4 separate regions of the Homo sapiens genome follow, and all the other regions are linked to region 1. Evidence: promoter capture Hi-C in 16 types of primary human blood cells and fetal thymus (Javierre and others, 2016). All regions are on one chromosome and are shown on one strand. Each heading gives the region's core, a stretch centred on a gene start or on the middle of the fragment in contact. The rest is flanking DNA. Distances are from core to core; before and after follow the strand shown. Region 1 holds the start of MEF2C-AS2 (MEF2C antisense RNA 2). Region 2 has its middle 180 kb from the start of LINC02144. Region 3 has its middle 130 kb from the start of TMEM161B. Region 4 has its middle 100 kb from the start of TMEM161B.

Region 1 (3,299 bases), core at 517-3,016:
ACTCAAAGAGACCTTGAGCCTGCCGAATTGTTTCACTCAGCCAGGTGCCCCCCAGAAACCGGCTATTCTGCAATCAGTTGTGGAATCCTGCAATTATTCATAAAATGTGCTGAAAATGTATTTTAGGAAACGTAATCTTGCTATATATGGCAAGGTAAAGGCGAACCTGAAGGATGAATGTGTTTCTGCTTTTTAATGTCATACGTGTAGCCATCTGACCACTTTTTATTGGGTGACATATCATATGAGCACTTTGGTGTAGGCTTGGAAAAACTACAGCCAGAGGTAAGGCTGGAAATTCCATAAGAGTTAAGGGTGCTGAAAATGGATGCTGGATAGTCCAGCATGAAAGATGGCATACCGCTTTAGGTTTGAAATAGGGGGAAATACATGTGAATATTTATACATGAAGGCCATTGGGGAGGGCTGAGTCTTGGCCTGAGTATCTGTGCAGGTAAGTCATTCATAAGAAAACTAATTACCTGTGCATGTACTTGGACTTGTTTAATTGAATAAGCTGCATGTGTGCATACTTGCTGTTCTTTCAGGGTTTGCAATTATAGATTGAGTCTTTTTTAAATGATAGCTTGGGGGAATTAAAAGGTGGAAAAAAGCCATCGTGCTGCATAGCTATATTGCCAAGAAAGAGAATCCGATCCTATAAACAAGATTACCATTGCTTGAAATCTAACTCAAGGCCTGTATATTTTAAGCCACATCAACTGGTTTAATATAGCCAATTGTTTTATTTGTGTATTTGCTTTCATTTCAAAGTCAGGAATCAAGGATGCTTTTCAGTCAAGATAATGTGCCTTGTTTCCAGCCATATTAAGATAAAAATGAAACTCAGTAAATTTTGAATGCAGCCAATAAGGTACAACATACAACATGGTTGAAAATGTCTTCCTTGCAGAAGGCTGTCCATTGCTGTGTCTACCCATTTTAAAATATATATATTTTTTTCAATAAGAAATGCTAGAAAGCAATAGGGCGGGGAATGCCGCACCTCTCAGGCAATCAGCACAAAAATTATTTAGAAATCTTTGGAATCACTTCACTTATACATACATTATCTCGAAAGCACTGGCCCCGAACTGTGTTTCTGCTAATATGAAGTTAATTAGACAATCAAACTTTGAGCCTTGAGCGATGGGCACTACAGCCCATCAAGGTATGTCAAGAAAGAAAAAAAAATGTGTATTTTCCTTTATGACCAAACCAGGAGGTTATACAGCTGGCATTGCATACATGACAGATGTGCATATTTGTAACCTTAAATAAACAGAAGCAGGGAGGTAACTGTGTATATTATCTAGCAAGAGACAGCAGCAGACACTCGCCAAAAAAGACAGAAAGGGACAAGAGAGACACATAGACATAATAAAATAACAACAATAAAAATCCTCCAAAAAAAAAAAGAGGGAAAGGGAACCAATAAAATGACAAAATCTGAAATTCTCGCAAATTAAAAAATGCAAATATACCTTTACATATGCATCAGTATTAAAAATAATACACGCTGGAACCAACAGGAGCGAGAGCAAGAAGAGGAGGAGGAGGTGGAGGAGAAGGAGGAGGAGGAGGAGAGGTGGAAGAGGAGGAGGAGGAGGAGGAGGAGGAGGAGGAGGAGGAGGAGGAGGAGGAGGAGGAGGAGGAGGAGGAAAGAATGGAGGCGCCGCGGAGCCCTGATTATGCATGGGCTGGAGCTGCCTCCTCTAACCTGTTCTTCTCCGAGCCGGGCAGCCGGCGGTCCTCAGCCGCCCACAGAACAGGAGCCGAAACAACCGTTCTCGAAGGCTACAGCGTTTATTTTTCTCTTTTGGGGGGTTTTGGCGGTTGTTTCAGGGGCTCGCCAACTGGCCCCTTTAATTAAAAGCTTCAATAAAAGGCGATCGCGCCAGGAATGCACCCGCTCCTCTTCGCGCAGGATTTGCATATTTTTTTAATGCCCTAATTTCCTTGATGTATGTAAATGTAGCCGGACGTAGAGGGAGACAGGGAGCTGACGTCAATGGACGTGACCTCGCAGCTAAACCTTGAACGTGAAGCCGGGATGGGGGAAAACACGGAGCGGCAGCCGGCGGAGCCCGAGAGCGCGGGCGGCGGCGGCAGTAGCCGAGCCCAGGCCGGGGTGCCAAGGGACCAGTGCCGGCCCCGGGGGAGGACAAGCCGCCGCCTTCTTTCTGCACCGCGCGGCTCTCAGACTCGCCAGCCTTCCGGCCGCACACGCAGACTCTTGCCCTGAGCTTCCAGCCCCACCACACACACGTTCTTTTGCTTCCCTCAGAAAAGCAACACTCCCCAAAACAACAAACCAAAATCAACAGATAAAACAGATGTTTTAGACCAATGCTCGGGTAGCTTATCAGAAAGAAGACTCTGACCACGGAACATATATATTTTTTGGCTTCTCTCCACAAGAAGAGGAGCGAGAGACCACAGACAACAGCAAATCACTCCTAAAACACGATAACTACAAGTGCTCCCTGTAGGGAGAGGTAAATCGCCCAGCCGACTGGTGAAGTCTTCTGGTTTCGGTACCTATTTACCTGTGCACTCATTATGCGCCTCGGCTTCATTAACGGCAGGATCATGAGCGCGCGTTTTAATGTGATGGGAGTGCTGTGTTGTGTGTGTGTGTGTATGTATGTATGTGTGTTGGGAGGTGCTTGCGCTAGTGAGCACCGAGGCAGGCGCTCTGAGCAGAGAGAGATCAGTCTTTCCATGGCCACGTCTGGGACTCATCTGCGGAGCCATCTAGGCCAGGGCTCCTAGATTGGGGTTCGACTTCACCCCATGTAAAAAGAGAGGCCAGCAAAGGCTTCCCCTGAACAGCCAGGTCCTTCCCATCGGATTGTTTGAGGAAGGAGGCTTGAAGTGTGAGCCATTCTGTAGCCGCCGCCTTGCCGGATTTGGCCTGGTGTTTTGCACTTGAAACTCAGCGGCCTCAGCGCGGAGGTAGTGCCTCTCCGAGACGCGGCCGAGGCCTTGTCATTCCCCTCCTTCCGCCCGCGGCAGCCCTGCGCGCCGGCGTGTGCGTGCCCGCGCACCGGACCGCTGGCACCTCCCTGTGCACATCCGCCCCCTCCTCTGCTCGCCCCCTCCTCTGGGGCAGCTAAGAAATGGTCCTCGGCCTCTTCTGGGCCGGAGGGCAGATCTACGAGCAGGCAAGAAAGGGGCGCCGGTGGCTGTGGTGGCGACTTCTCCGCTCTGCCCTCGGCCGCCAAGTGTGCCGTTTCATCGTTCCACCTCGCAGCCCCAGCTTTGTTTTCCTGACATGTTCGTGGCCATTGGGCCCC
Region 2 (3,299 bases), core at 578-3,077, 770 kb after region 1:
ACAGACACTTCTGTATTACATTGTCATAATTTTGTTCATAGGGTAGTTCATTGTTAATTAGGAAGACATTTTATGAAATCATATTGATTTATCTGTCAGATGGAAGAACCACATAACTTTTGGGGAGATACTTTTCAACACAAGTGTTTGTAGTTAAAACTGGGGAGGCAACCACAACTTTTAGAAAAAAATATCTAGAAAAATTATGCATTTCTAACAAATGGTTAATATAGTGAAAATGAAACTTCAAAAATGTGTGGACTTTCTACTCTAAAGGAGAAAGTTCTCTGAACAAATCAATTATTTTGTTTTATGTCTGTGATCCTTTCCAAATTTAAAGGGAGAAATTGTGAGTTAAAAAAAATAGATATATAGAAAATTGATCTGTTTGATAAGACCAGTTCAGGGCAAAGCTATGAATTAGGCAATTTTCTTCATTTGGCAATATTTCTATTGTTCCTTAAATGTTTTTCCTTTTTGTCAGTATGTTCCTTTTCCCGTTACCTTCCAGGCACACTTATGCCAAGGTTTTACTTTCTAATTATGTCCCTCTTCCATTTAAAGCTTACTTGCATATATCCCTTTGCTTCATAGCCAGTTAAAATAATACAATAGTTTTATTAACAGATAATGGCTTAATGTATTATTGATAACTTTCTTTTTTATGGGAAGTTTTGGAGATAAGCATTCCTAAAATTAATTCAGATAAATTTAAAGGAGATGGAGGAATTAGAGATAACAAGAAATATATTTTTGCACAGACAGATTTTTTTCCCAAGCATTTCTCAAATTACATCTACTTACTTTTGTATAACTATTCTGCTAATATTAAACACATTGAATTCATATAACAGAAATGGCTCACTTGTTATTTGAAAATGAAATTCATTAATTATTAGAGTGGTTTACATTTCTAAAGTAATTTCATGTGCATTTCCTCATGTGATTATCTCAATAACCATATTAGGAAGAGCACATAGTGTCACCTTTTTACAAATGAAGGAATTGAGCCTCAGACAGGTTTATAGATTTGCTTAAGGTGACCAACCAGTGTATAGTAAAAATAGAAAATAAAGCAATGTCTCTGGACTCCTGGCCTCATAATTGTTCCATCATTGTTAGTCAAGATATATAAGAGATGAAAATTTAATTAAATATCCTTCCCTTTATTCAGTACACATATATTAATCACCAGTAATACGCATTGACTCATAAGGGATACAGAGAGGCAGAGACATGACCTTGGTAGGAGATCCCAGTCTAGTGGGGAAAGTTAAGACATTTAAAGAGATTTCTGTAATACAAGATAGAAAGCAAAATGTCCCAGTAAAATTGAGGAAGAGATATACTAAGTGAATCCAGAGAAGGACTTTCTAGCTGTAAAGAGAAAATTGTAGTCTTCATACTGGAGTGTGCACATGGACATGGGTTTGTAGGATGTCAAGGATATGGACACATAGAGATGAAAGAGAAAGATAGTACACAAAAGCAGAGAGAATATTGAGCACAAAGTTAGAGAGGAAAAGGGTCGATGATATAGACCTTTTCTGCATTTTCTTTCCTTCATATTGATACTCCCTTCTGTTAACAGTACAGAAGGGAATACTGATGTGGAGTACTCGTCTGTTAAAAATACCCAAATATTTCTTTGGGCAGCCAGCTCTTTCCAACTCTAAACGTATGTGTTTGTTGAGAGGTTGATCTGACCATTCTGCTTTAAAGAGGACCACAATTCCTGGCCTGATCAGTCAGAATTACAGTGGTCCAAGGATATGCATATTATGCAGGACTTTTGAGAAAAAGCACATTTTTTTTCTTTCTGCTGAGATTGCTCAGACAGTAGAATGTAAGTGGTGGTCTTCTTTGCCCCCTTATGGAAAAAGCCTTCTGTTTGTATACAGTTCTCAATGGGTTTCTCACATTTCTGTCCATCTTGTGTATAAAGTATGAACTGCCTTTGGTTCCAGACTATACTTAAAAATATGCTTGCTCAGTAAATAGCCTTGGGAAGAGAGAAAGAGATCCAGAACAAAGGAAAGGAATGCCTACTGCGCATCAGAAAAGATTCAGGCTCTCTAAGCTCAGATTTCCTCTACTGCAACACAACCTACTACCTGGGCAGGCATGCACCTAGGCTTTTCTGTATCCCCTCATGATATTTACGGATTAGAGGGATTCACAGAAATATACCTTTGCCTCTGGTCCAGCAGTCTCATGTTTTCTGTCAGCATTTATATAACTGAGGCAGGTTAACTTGCTAACTTACAAGCAAGGTAAATCTCAGATCATTCTCATTTTTCTGACACTTTCTAGATAAATAAACCAACATAGAGGCTTCTAGAAAGATGTGCAAAGAAAGAAGTTTGTGGCAATAATTTTTTTGACATCTGTATCAAATTGTGCCTTAATTCAGATATCTCTATCTTACTCAGTTAAATGAGCCACCACATTTTCCTTAAGTTTTCTTAAATTATGTTTCCATCACTTGCAACCAAAAAAAATCCCAATTTATCCCAATATTTGAGAACAATCTAAAAATTTAACTTAATTCGATGCAGAAATGGGACTACTGAAAGATTAGATTAGATATGGATTTCTAGCATAGCTGTGAATTTAACTGGAAGCGAATGAAAACAATAGGATTTTTCCATTAGACTACAATATTTCACACACATTTAATTGTTGAGTATTAATATGGAATTTCATTCCGGTGCATTGTATGCATGTACTCAACTAGCAAAAAAAAATGTAGGTCTTTAATTGTCATTAGTTTTTAGAAGATGAAGGACAGATATTATTTACGATAAGCAAATTAAAACCAAGTGACTTTCCTGAAACTTCACTGTGGCTTGAAAGTAAACCATAGTTTATGTGATTGTCTTTAGGGTCTCCACGTATTCTTTTCTGACACACTTCATTTCAAAATATCTCATCAAGATAATAAATAAAAAAGAAAAATACACACTGATTACATAAAATATAATTTTTGCTACATACATTGTAAATAAAATAGTAGCCTATAAAATTAAGGGTTTCATTTTTTCAAGTAAGGTACAAAATGTGATATTATGAAAGGAACATTAAGCTTGGAATAATTTTACCTGTGTTTTTGCTACAGTGCTGTATAAAACAAAACCACTGAGTCTTAAAATTTCTTGTGTAAATTTGGATAATTAATCCTATCTTCACAGAGTAACTGAGGGTTAAGTAAGCTACGTTGTATGTGAATGTGTTTAGCATGTACTTGGAATAAATGTAGGTGATATTTTATATTTACTGTCTTTATCCTTTGTGTAAGG
Region 3 (3,299 bases), core at 350-2,849, 540 kb after region 1:
TCGGGAGGCTGAGGCAGGAGAATTGCTTGAACCCTGGAGGCGGAGGTTGCAGTTAGCCGAGATCGCTGCATTCTAGCCGGGGCAACAGAGCAAGACTCCGTCTCAAAAAAAATGTGATATTGATGCAATATTAATATCTATTAACGTAAAATTATCCTTCCCATAACAATTTGTTGGTACGTAACTATGTAATAAAAGTATAAAAGCATGTTGGGGAAGAATGCGTGCGAACTCCAGCATGGGGGAGACCCCTGGAAGAGAAGGAGCCTTTATCCACATGGATATTGGCTATATGAGTAATGTTTATTTCCTTAAAAAAATCTTAGAAAGAAGCCAGAACATAGAGAGGTATGGGAAGGCTTTACAGAAGAGCTAACTTTGAAGCTAAGTTCTTGAAAGTGATAAGCAGGAGTTTAGTAGGAATATTTGAAAGACAATTCTTCTTCTTGAATACATGAGAATGAGAAATATAAACTATGTGAAGCTTTTGAACTTTTGATATTTAGGTTAAATACAGTACAATTCACTTTTTCAGGGATATAAATTCTTTGAGTTTTACCAGTGTGTAATGTAATCACGACCACAAGCAAGAAACAGAATTTCATCATCCCCCAAAACTTCTTTGTGCTGCCCTTTGCAGTCAATCCCTCCCAATATCCTGTAACCCTGGAAACCACTGATCTGTTTTCCATTCCTGTAGTTTTGCCTTTTACAGAATGTCATATAAATAGAATCATACAGTATGTAGCTTTCTTCTGTGTGGCTTCTTTTTACTAGCATAATGGATTTGATCTTCATCTGTGTTGTTGGGTGTATCAACAGTTTGCTCTTTTTGATTGCTGAGTAGTATTTCATTGCATGAACGTACCACAGATGGTTTATCCTTTTAAAAGTTGTTGAAGGCCATTTGAGTTGTTTCTGATGTACAGTTTTTTTTTAATTTTTTTATTTTATTTTTTTGAGATGGAGTCTCGCTCTGTCGCCCAGGCTGGAGTGCACTGGTGCGATCTTGGCTCACTGCAAATTCTGCCTCCTGGGTTCACGCCATTCTCCTGCCTCAGCCTCCTGAGTAGCTGGGACTACAGGTGCCTGCCACTAAGCCCGGCTAATTTTTTGTATTTTTAGTAGAGACGGGGTTTCACCATGTTAGCCAGGATGGTCTCGATCTCCTGACCTTGTGATCTGCCCGCCTCAGCCTCCCAAAGTGCTGGGATTACAGGTGTGAGCCACCACACCCAGCCCTGATGTACAGTTTCTTAATTCCAGGGACTGGGTTCATTGCTGTCATGTATAATGGGGATCTTCTGTGAATGGCTATTATATTACATATAATAAGTGTGTACCATTATTTCCCCTGAGAGGCTAATCTATAATCTGGTGTTAAATACTGTGTAGAGCTAGGTAAGAACCTACCCAGCCAACTATATAGAAAAACACACATGTTCACAGTATTTCAGAAATTGCCCTTCAGCTTACTTACTTGTAGTGAGTTCAATAGAAGATACTCACTAAAGATGCCAGCTGATGACCAGCATGTGTGAACTTACATATATGTAGTGGAGGATTTAAATTTCTTACTGTTTGAGCACCTATGACTTTCCTAGTGTGGAATTATTCTTTGTTTCTAAATATTTCCTAAATTCTCCTTGAAAGATTGACCTTTGCTTTCTGAGGTCTGAGTGGAGGTTTACTTGCAGGCAGTATCCCCATACATTTGATAGAGGATGACAAATTCACATAACCAATTAAGGAGTTCTGAGCACTTGTAAGGAGTCACAGTAATTCCAGATTCTGGACTGTACTGTCAACACTCAAGTGTTTGATTTCCTCTTGTTTGTTTCTCATCAGGACCCTGAAAAGCTGATAGCTAGGGTACATAGATTGGGTGCTGAGTTCAGGCACAGAGTAAGGAAGCCTGTGGGTACATAAGCACTTATTAATGTATCCCTTGAATTCCAAAGTCAAATATCAACTGTTTGTTGATATTTGGAGCCTTATTTATTTATTTATTTAAAAAACCTCTAGTTCCTCATGGCTATTTGAAAGCTCTCTTTCAAAGGCAGCTGTAAGAGTCAATAACGTGCAAGATGGTAAGGAGAAGTGTAAATAAACATTCACAGATTGATGACCTTTTGGGTGTGGTTCAGAGTCAAGAAAGGACAATCCCAACTGTAAAGACTGATGGCAGTATTGGGATGCAAGGGGTGCTATTGTCTAATCCTAGTCTTCTTGCTAGAATAGGCTGTGTTTTGAACTTAAAATTGTATCCAGTTGCTACATGTGAGAGTGCATGTCATCCCTAGTTTTAGTTCTTATAATCAGCATCACCCTCTGGCAAATGATACTGGAAAAAAGTTTTAATTAACAATTCAACTAAACAAATGGTAAAATAAACAATAGGAATTTCCTTTGGATACATTCTTAAGTAAACGTTATAAAGGTTATAAATCAAGGAATGTAAATGCCACATTTTCACTTTGTTAAGTTCTGTGCCACCTTGGAAAAAAGCCTACTTTATTTGTACCACAATTTTATCTCTTATAAAAGGGCAGAGGACTAAACATGTTGCTATTTATGATTTAAGATTCCCCCGGCAAGAAGCACTTTATGAACCCTAGACTTTGCTGTGATAGAACTCTTTCATTAGTCATGCCAAATTGCAATGATTGAGGCATCCACCATTTTCCCAATTAATTATAACACACCCAAGCTTCATGTTTCCTGGTGCACTTTGAAGATTTTGAGAAAGTGGTCATTTCCTCACAATAACCTAATTTACAGCCCCTATTCAAACAAGGTAATTTAGAGCATGCACTCTTAACTTGTTTAGTAAACATGTCCAAGCTAAGAAGTGTTGGCCCTGTGAAGCTCATCAGTCCAGTGACTTAACAGTAGTTCTTCCATTAAAAGAAAATCACTGTCCGGGTGCGGTGGCTCACACCTGTAATCCCAGCACTTTGGGAGGCTGAGGCGGGCAGATCACAAGGTCAGGAGATTGAGACCATCCTGGCTAACATGGTGAAACCCTGTCTCTACTAAAAATACAAAAAAATTAACCAGGTGTGGTGGTGGGCGCCAGTAATCCCAGCTACTTAGGAGGCTGAGGCAGGAGAATGGCCTGAACCCGGGAGGCAGAGCTTGCAGTGAGCTGAAATTGTGCCACTGCACTTCAGCCTGGGCAACAGAGTGAGACTCCGTCTCAAAAAAAAAACAAACAAACAACAAGCAAACAAAAAAAAAGAAGATCACCTTTGCGCTTTGTGCTACAAATAAATTGGTGCTGACTTAGTACCAAGACT
Region 4 (3,299 bases), core at 346-2,845, 510 kb after region 1:
AGTAAATATCCACTTTTTAACCTAATCGTGTCTACATAATTATATATTTTTCTTTTCTTTTTTTTTGAGATGGAGTCTCGCTCTGTCGCCCAGGCTGGAGTGCAGTGGCGCGATCTCGGCTCACTGCAAGCTCCGCCTCCCTGGCTCAAGTAATTATCCTGCCTCAGCCTCCCAAGTAGCTGGGACTACAGGCACGAGCCACCATGCCCGGCTAATTTTTGTATTTTAAGTAGAGACGAGGTTTCACCATGATGGCCAGGATGGTCTTGATCTCCTGATCTCATGATCCACCTGCCTCAGCCTCCAAAAGTGCTGGGATTACAGGCGTGAGCCACCGCGCCTGACCTATTTTTCTTAAAGAGGATCCCCAAATTGTTTATGCTTCAGGCTCTGCAAAACATGAATATGCCCATGCTTAATTCATCTAATGGGAATTAGATAAATTCAACACACTCTCCCTCTTGCTCATTATAATGATCCATCAGTCAAACCAACAACAATACTCTTGTCCATCTGCCTGCTGATTGCTAATGCATAGAAGTACAAGAGGGTGAAATTTTTATTTCATATTTAGACATATAAATATTACAAAAAGGTAAATTATTGGCTGAGGTACTGTTTTCACCTGCCTGATTTTCAGTTACATGTAGCTAGTTATTCCAAAACTCCATGTGACTATCATATAGTTTTTCCTTTGTTTAATATTGAGAGAGGATGAAAGGCACAGAAATGGTCTAGAGATGAGGATACATTGTCACCAAGGAGGTACACAAGACAGAAGGAGAAGGTTGAGAACTTTGAAAGCCAAGTCCAGTGACAATCCTATTAATAATCAGCCTGATTGTTATAAATAGAAGATGGACAAAGGGACCATTCTTCACTGGAAACTTTAAAAAGCAGCTTCCAGTGACTCTAGAAGCTACACTGGTTTTCTAAAAAGCTGCCTTTCCAATTTACTCATTCGACAAAGGGCTAATATCCAGAATCTACAAAGAACTTAAACAAATTTACAAGAAAAAATCAAACAACCTCATCAAAAAGTGGACAAAGGATATGAACAGACACTTCTCAAAAGAAGACATTTACGCAGCCAACAGATACATGAAAAAATGCTCATCATCACTGGCCATCAGAGAAATGCAAATCAAAACCATAATGAGATACCATCTCACACCAGTTAGAATGGCGATCATTAAAAAGTCAGGAAACAACAGGTGCTGGAGAGGATGTGGAGAAATAGGAACGCTTTTACACTGTTGGTGGGACTGTAAACTAGTTCAGCCATCGCGGAAGACAGTGTGGTGGTTCCTCAGGGATCTAGAACTAGAAATACCATTTGACTCAGCCATCCCATTACTGGGTATATACCCAAAGGATTATAAATCATGCTGCTATAAAGATACATGTACACATATGTTTACTGCGGCACTATTCACAATAGCAAAGACTTGGAACCAACCCAAATGTCCATCAATGATAGCCTGGGTTAAGAAAATGTGGCACATATACACCATGGAATACTAAGCGGTCATAAAAAATAATGAGTTCATGTCCTTTGTAGGGACATGGATGAAGCTGGAAACCATCATTCTCAGCAAACTATCGCAAGGACAGAAAACCAAACACCACATGTTCTCACTCATAGGTGGGAATTGAACAATGAAAACACTTAGACACAGGGTGGGGAACATCACACACCAGGGCCTGTTGTGGGGTGGGGGGAGTGGGGAGGGATAGCATTAGGAGATATACCTAATGTAAATAACGAGTTAATGGGTGCAGCACATCAACATGGCACATGTATACATATGTTAACAAACCTGCATGTTCTGCACATGTACCCTAGAACTTAAAGTATATATAAAAAAAAGCTGGCTTTTCAGAGACCACATAGCAAGAGAATAATTAATAAAATAATAACTCTATGAGCATCCTGAGGAGCCTGTAGCTTTCTTGGACTTGATTTTTATCAGATGAGTGGAAATATGGTTAAAACAGTTAACCCACAGAAGAAGCTAATTGGAAGGATGAGGCTGAAGGGAAGCCTCCCAGTTTAGGTGGATGACTTTTGAAGGCTTTTGTATATGTTAAAAATACTACAAGAGGCAAGATAAATTGATTCAAATCCTATGTATGCTACTTGATATGGCCCAGTTACCTCTACTGTACTATGAGGACTTTCCATACAGTATTTTCCATACAGGGTTGTCAGAAAATGAAATTGAGATAATCAATGGCTGGCACACAGAATTACAAGGGTTCATTCTCAGAATACATTGAGAAGGGAGGGTGCTTACCAAACTCCCGAAATTTTATGCAAATATTTCTATAGGTAAACATTTTGAGGAGCAACAGGTTCACAACTTTTATTAATTTCTTGAAGTGATCTGTGATAAAATAGGCTAAGAAGAATGGAAGTAGGAGCTCATTTATGTTTGTGAATGAATTGCAAAAAAAAAGGTCTGAAATTTTCTAGAAGTAGAATAGTCATCAAAATGTAAAATGTCTGAGACAGAAGAGAAATTGAGTGAGGTTATAGTGGGAAAAGTATTCAAGTTGATGTTGATCAGATAAACTAACACTATATTTGCACTGATTCAGTGTTATTCTTGCTTTCTAAATCTATTTTTTTCTATGCCTAAGGAAGTAGAAAATATTTTCTTCTTTTTCATGTTCTGAGCTATGAACATGGCTCAGTTTTCAGTGCAAGTAATTTAAAAAATTTGATAAGGGTTTAAAAGTTAAGGATGTGGTCCTGGATCTACATCTAAATAATTATGTGGACTTGTGCAAGTAATTTGCCTCAGTTTTCCCAAGTGTGAAGTTGTAGTGATGAACCGTTTCTTCTTCTTAGAATAATGTTTAAAAAATGGGCTAATAAATAAAAATATATTGAATGTCTTTGAGTGAAGTAGCTATTTAAAATCAACATGTTAACTAATCATTGGAGAAATGCAAATAAAAACCACAATGAGATACCATCTCACTCCAGTTAGAATGGATCTTATTGAAATGTCAAAAAAATAACAGATGTTGGTGAGGTTGCAAAGAAAAGAGAATGCTTATACACTACTGGTGGGAATGTAAATTAGTTCAACTATGTGGAAAGCAATTTGGTGATTTCTCAAAGACCTTAAAACAGAACTACCATTCAATCCAGCAACCCCATTATTGGGTATATACCCAAAGGAATATAAATTGTTCTCCCATAAAGACACATGCATATATATGTTTATCACAGCTCTGTTTATGATATCAAAGGCATAGAATCAACCCATCAATGGTAGACTAGATAAAGA

What was found. The method cuts DNA at HindIII sites, captures the fragments that hold promoters and counts their contacts. A CHiCAGO score of 5 or more calls a contact.
Region 2: a fragment that was not itself captured here is called in contact with the fragment with the promoter of MEF2C-AS2 in region 1 in 1 of 17 cell types (activated CD4 T cells); the score reaches 5.5 in activated CD4 T cells.
Region 3: a fragment that was not itself captured here is called in contact with the fragment with the promoter of MEF2C-AS2 in region 1 in 11 of 17 cell types (endothelial precursors, megakaryocytes, erythroblasts and 8 more); the score reaches 14.6 in endothelial precursors.
Region 4: a fragment that was not itself captured here is called in contact with the fragment with the promoter of MEF2C-AS2 in region 1 in 1 of 17 cell types (megakaryocytes); the score reaches 5.3 in megakaryocytes.

What each region holds. Positions count from the first base shown.
Region 1 is chr5:88,674,685-88,677,983 of GRCh38, reverse strand. MEF2C-AS2 (MEF2C antisense RNA 2) reads right to left here and starts at 1,766. Exons shown (of 4, transcript NR_146284.1): 1 at 1,721-1,766. All of the region lies in intron 1 of MIR9-2HG (MIR9-2 host gene), which reads left to right. RefSeq lists enhancers at 1,692-2,257, 2,695-2,794. The HindIII fragment of the contact is 5,913 bases long and covers 1-1,878 here.
Region 2 is chr5:87,908,314-87,911,612 of GRCh38, reverse strand. No RefSeq gene overlaps it. Among named protein-coding and RNA genes, the nearest start is that of LINC02144, 180 kb to the right of the region's middle. The HindIII fragment of the contact is 2,521 bases long and covers 567-3,087 here.
Region 3 is chr5:88,136,557-88,139,855 of GRCh38, reverse strand. No RefSeq gene overlaps it. Among named protein-coding and RNA genes, the nearest start is that of TMEM161B, 130 kb to the left of the region's middle. The HindIII fragment of the contact is 2,226 bases long and covers 487-2,712 here.
Region 4 is chr5:88,162,413-88,165,711 of GRCh38, reverse strand. No RefSeq gene overlaps it. Among named protein-coding and RNA genes, the nearest start is that of TMEM161B, 100 kb to the left of the region's middle. The HindIII fragment of the contact is 4,402 bases long and covers 1-3,299 here.